Linked DNA regions of Homo sapiens: region 2 is linked to region 1. Evidence: promoter capture Hi-C in human tissues and cell types (Jung and others, 2019). All regions are on one chromosome and are shown on one strand. The core of a region is centred on a gene start or on the middle of the fragment in contact, and the rest is flanking DNA. Distances in the headings are between cores, read along the strand shown. Region 1 holds the start of CNEP1R1 (CTD nuclear envelope phosphatase 1 regulatory subunit 1). Region 2 has its middle 50 kb from the start of NKD1.

Region 1 (2,700 bases), core at 150-2,649:
GTTATAATTTCCTTTTCTTAAAAATTTCTTCATAAGGCATTGTCTACAATGTTAAATAAATTTAAACAAACATTTTACATAAAAGCAAATCATTCCTATATTAGGATAAAAGTATCAATTGTTAGTTTTCCCTTAAAATAACATTCAGGAACTTACTTCTCCAGCGTCCAGTAGCAGGTTGCAAACAATGAATATATTCAGTAAGTCTCCTCTCAAAAGCCTTGAGATCTAGGTATAAAGATGTCAATTTTCTAATTAGCCACTCTTACTCGTCTGACGAAATGTCAGAGTATTTACCTAACATTAAGACGACATGTGAGATACTCTTAACTGCTTCAGGTCTTACACACTAACTTCCATGTATCACTGCACTGTTTATTTCATTTACTATGACAGCTTTTTAAGCACTTGACAAAAAATTAGGGCTCTTTAATTCCAATTTCTCATATAAGAAAACTTGCTGATTTACTTTTAGAAGCTTCATAAATGGTATTGGGAGAAATAAGCAGCAGCCTCGGCCAGCGCCAAAAGCGAACATTTTCAGGGTTGCAAATAAAATTAAAATCAGGTCGAGTTTTAGCTCTCTGGGAACCAAGAACTTCCTATTAGAACCACGTAGTGCCTAACATCAAAGTCTTCGAGGTCTACCTGACTGCAATTACCCGCCTCCGGTTTCCAGCTCTTATATTTAATTAATGGCTACGCCGTCTGGCCTTACTAGACTTCTTGACACTGATAGCGAGTGGGTGTGGAAAGACATTCCCCTTGCCCCCTCCGAAGGGGTACAGGTGATCTTCGTGGCACCCAGGCAGCGCCTAGTTCTAGAAGACAGGGGCGTCTAAGCTGCTCCGAGTGAGTGGTGGGGTATCCTTTCCGCAGTGGTGTGCTTTAAACTTTAAAACACCGAGCAGCACTTCCTAACCTTGGCAGTTACCGGAAACCACCGCAGGAATCAGGGATACAACTCGCGGGGCTGTGAGAATGAAATGAAATGAATTAGCAGGCTGCAATGCACGAAGTGCAAGTGTCTGCCAGTGAAAAGAAAATAAAAATAGAAGCTGGCGAGGAGGTCGACCCTCTAGGTTTGTGGGGACTCAGGGAGCTGAGGCACCGCCCCCCGCGTCTGGCCAGGTACGGCCGCCTACGCGCCCCCAAGCTCCGGGCCCCTAGCTCCATCCTCTGCGGCCTCCTCCCGGGGCGGGGGTCTTCACGACGCCGGCTCCTCCGGAGCACCGCCAGCTTCCGAGGGGAGACGGGGGACGGGCCCGGGCGGCCCACCCTACCTTCCGCCTGCTCCAGCGAGTTCATGTCGGGCGGCAGCTCGGGTCACCGCCGCTGCCCTGTCCGCATCGCAGCTTCCGCGGCCCCCGCCCGGCCCGCAGCGCCAACTCCCACCTCTAACCGCTCCCCGCTGCCCCTCCCCGTCGCACCGCCCCTTGCCTAGACCCGCTACGCTCATTGGATTCCTCTACTAGACCTCCAACTAAGACAGCTTTCTATTGGCTGTCTCTTGCACCGGCCTCGGCGCCTAGCGTTGGACGGTCAGCCGGAGGGACCAAGAACTGCCGGCGGCCAGGCGGGCGTAACGCTGGCGTCGCCTGCTGCCCCGGGGAGGAACTGCAGCCCTCCGGAGCCAGTTCGTTCATTCATTTATCCCCCGTTCCCCGCTTGGTTCTTTCATTCGTCAAATGTTGATTGAGCGCCCACTACCTTCCAGGCATTATTCTGGTCGCTAGCGAGGGATACAGAAATCAAAGAGCTGGTTCTGTCCTCAAGGATCTCAAGGAGTAATGAAATCTGTACAGAACTAACTAGAACCCTAAATAACCAGTTTCCTTAATTATGGTATCCTAGATAACCAACCCCTTAAGTAAACACTTCTCTCTTGGTTACTTTCCTCTCACATCACCCAGCTTTCATAATTCCTAAATGAGGCAAAGTGTAAGCCCAAATACCTATAACTTAAGAAGAGATCTGTAAGGGATTGACTACATTTGTATTTGATCACAAGGCCTTCTTGTTCATTTATTGGTGGCATTCTTTCATTCAAAATCATTTTATTGCCTAACATGCTAGACACTGTATTGATACGCGTGTGAGCCAGGTAGACAGGATTCCTGCCCGCAAAGAGGAAGGGCTACAGCAGGCAACAAACATGCAAATAAGTAATTGATTTCAAATAAGAATAGTTGTGTTAAAATAGAGATCCTGGCCGGGCGCGGTGGCTCACGCCTGTTAATCCCAACACTCTGGGAGGCTGAGGCGCGTGGATCACTTGAGGTCAGGAGTTGAGACCAGCCTGGGCAACATGACAAAACCCTGTTTCTACTGAAAATACAAAAAAATTATCCAGACGTGGTGGTGCATGCCTGTAATCCCAGCTCTTTGGGAGGCTGAGGCACGAGAGTCACTTGAACCCAGGAGACGGAGGTTGCAGTGAGCCACTGCACTCCAGCCTGGGTGACAGCGTGAGACTGTCAAAAAAGAAAAAGAAAAAAAAAAGAATCTAAGACTGATGGGCTAGATTTTTTTGTGGCAGTAACATACCAACTTATAAACAAGACCTAAGGCCCTGCCAGGCAAGGGTTAAATCACTCAAGACCCAGACACTTAAAGAATAAACGATGTTCTAACTGCCACAATGTTCGTTTTTTTCCTCTAGCAGCTAAACAAGCAATATTAAAACAATTGCAGCTTACC
Region 2 (2,700 bases), core at 78-2,577, 470 kb before region 1:
ACTAATGTTGATTAAACACTGTGGTTGACGTTACAATGCTCTGCAACATCAGGCTCAGTTTTCCTTCCTGGACATACAGAAAACTATATATCCCAGTACCCTTGCTGTGAGGTGGAACCATGGGCTAGTCTTGGCTAGTTAACTGAGAGCAGAAATGTTCTGGCCAATTATTTAGTTAATTTCTTCCTCTGCCACAGTGAACATGGAGGCTTTGAGTTGAAGTGATGGAGCTGCAATTTGATCTTCTGGATTATGTATCACATCTAGAAGAAGTCTGCCCCGGAGGGTGGTCTTGGACCTACAGCAAGCTTCATGGGAGTGAAAAATAAACTTCTGTAGTGATTAGCCACTGAGCTTGCAGGGATGCTTGCTACTGCAGCACAGCCTTGCTTGGACTGACTGGTACAAGCACTACCATATGCAAGTATTTTTATATATATTATTATTTCATTTGATCCTCGCATCTCTAGAGGCAGGTATTATTATCCTCTCAATAAGAGGTAGACCCAGAAGTAGAGCCAGGTTTCTTTGCCTCCTGAGCCCTGGGTCTTAGCAATTAGGTAGATGCCACCCCCTAAAACAGGGAAATTTGGGAGGCAGGCATGTAAATGGTTAACTCAATGCAGAAATGCCCCTTGTCACCGTGGGGTCTTTGTTGAGGAAATTGTAATCCTTCAAGTGTGGCCTCCCAGAGTCTGGGAAAAAAATGTTCCCAGCTAAAAGTAGCTACACCAGAGGGTCCCAGCCAAAGTCCAACTCTAGGTTGGCAGAATTCTTGGATGGCTTGGAATTCCTGCTGGCCAAGGTTCCACTGGCATGGAAGTGTTTACACTCACGTCAAATTAGTTCTCCCACGCCTTCCAGAGCCTCAGCCCATATTTGGGATGGAAAGGGGAAAATGATTCCCAGGGGAGATTCAAAAGCATCAGAAAAATTCCTCAGGGGCCGAGGCTTCTCCGTGTGGCTTGGGGCTCTGAGCAGGGTCTCTCATACCTGGACCCCGTGCCAGCAGGGCAGCCAAGCCAGGAGCACATGAACCCCCTCACACACTAATTCAGAAGGAAGGCATTTCTGCAGTGACCCTTGGGAGACCCAGAACAGATCCATAGCCAAATGAAGTGCAAGAAACAGGAAAGAAGAAAAGATCTAACTTGCGTTTCTGTCTGTTGAAAGTAGGCTTTTCTTCCTCCCTTCTAGAAGATGCTATGTGATTGGAGTGCCTTTAGCCGCGAGAAGCAGAAAACCCAGTAAAAGCGTCTTTGCAGAAAGGAAAGCTCCCGGAAGACTGTGTAGAGTGTACCCTTTTTGTGAGGCTCAAAAGCAGGCAAAACAAAGCAATACGTTGTCTGGATATACATTTACATGTGATAAAACTATACAAACCCATACAAGGGAATGAGAAACACAGAATTCAGGACCGTGCTTATCTTAGGGGCAAATGCAGGGAGGTGGTCATGGGGCCAGTTCGAGAGGAGCACATATGGAGGAGTAATCACTATTGGCAATATTCTAGTTCTTGAGTTGAGTGATGGGTTCATGGGTGTTCGTTATTTTAATAAATATCCCAGTGGCATGTCATGAATCAAGGCTCATGATTAATCCAGTTCTGTCTACCTAAGATCTATTTTTAAAGGGGAACTCAATAACAGCCAACACTTGTACACCATTTCCTGCGTGCCAGGCACTGTTATAAGCCCTTCACATATATAAACATGTTTACACCTCCTAGCAGCCTTATGAGTTGGGTCTTATTTTATGTCCACTTTCCAGATGAAGAAACCAAGGCAAGACAGGTTAAGCATCTGCCCAAGGTCACACAGCAGGCAATTAGGCTTCAGAGACCTCCTTCATAGCTGTTGCAAAATAGGAATGTTAGTCACATCATATAACTGCAAGCCCAGAGACAGAGCTGTTGTGGGGTGGGTTTGTTCTGTGGTTCAGGTGACATCATCAAAGATGCTGTCCTCACCATGTCCACCAGGTCCCCCCGCCGCTAGTCATACTGCACTTGCAGTCTTTGCAGACAATCCCACACAGTTCAGCAAAATGAGGCATTTCCTCTCATGTGCTGTTTCATTGGTGAGGAATTCCTTTCCCAGATCCTAGCTTGGAGACTTCCCCTTGGAGCCATTGACCAAGCCGAATCTCATGTCCAGACCCAAACCAATCATTGACCACCATAATGGGCTTTGAGCATTCACAGTTCACCCCCCTGAGACTGCAGGGATGAGTGGGAACAGTCAGGGGTGTTTGCCTCTAATTAGGGTTCCCCTGCATGGGCTATGAGAAGAAAAGACGGTTGACTCTGCTGGACTGGGGGCTCCCTAAACAGAAACCATGTCTAAGTCATCCTGCCCTCCCTGTCCCCCACGCCCAGTCAAGGCCCATCAAATAGTAGGCATCCATTCTACTGGACAGGCCAGTCCTGGGGCTTGTCATGCTCACAGTCTCCTCCTGAAAAAAGAAGAGACCATCTGTCCCTGGAGCCCAGGTGGCTTATATCTGTCCAGAGGTGATTGGTTGAGAGTCAGTCACCTGACCTAAGAGAAGTTATGTCACAGGCTAGCCAAGATCCTATGGTATATCTTGATACAAAGATCTCCTTCCCAACCAGGATGGGTGGTTTAGTGGGTGTCTTAACCCAGATTCCATATCAGTCAGCTTTGCATTGTTAGAAAGGAATACCTGAGGCTGAGTTAT

What was found. The method cuts DNA at HindIII sites, captures the fragments that hold promoters and counts their contacts. A contact is called where the count stands out against the background at its distance.
Region 2: a fragment that was not itself captured here is called in contact with the fragment with the promoter of CNEP1R1 in region 1 in 1 of the 25 tissues and cell types used here (hippocampus).

What each region holds. Positions count from the first base shown.
Region 1 is chr16:50,023,924-50,026,623 of GRCh38, reverse strand. CNEP1R1 (CTD nuclear envelope phosphatase 1 regulatory subunit 1) reads right to left here and starts at 1,399. Exons shown (of 6, transcript NM_001281789.2): 1 at 1,284-1,399; 2 at 157-228. The coding sequence starts at 1,308. RefSeq lists a silencer at 1,086-1,395 and an enhancer at 1,209-1,710. The HindIII fragment of the contact is 15,057 bases long and covers 1-2,700 here.
Region 2 is chr16:50,497,087-50,499,786 of GRCh38, reverse strand. No RefSeq gene overlaps it. Among named protein-coding and RNA genes, the nearest start is that of NKD1, 50 kb to the left of the region's middle. The HindIII fragment of the contact is 5,593 bases long and covers 1-2,700 here.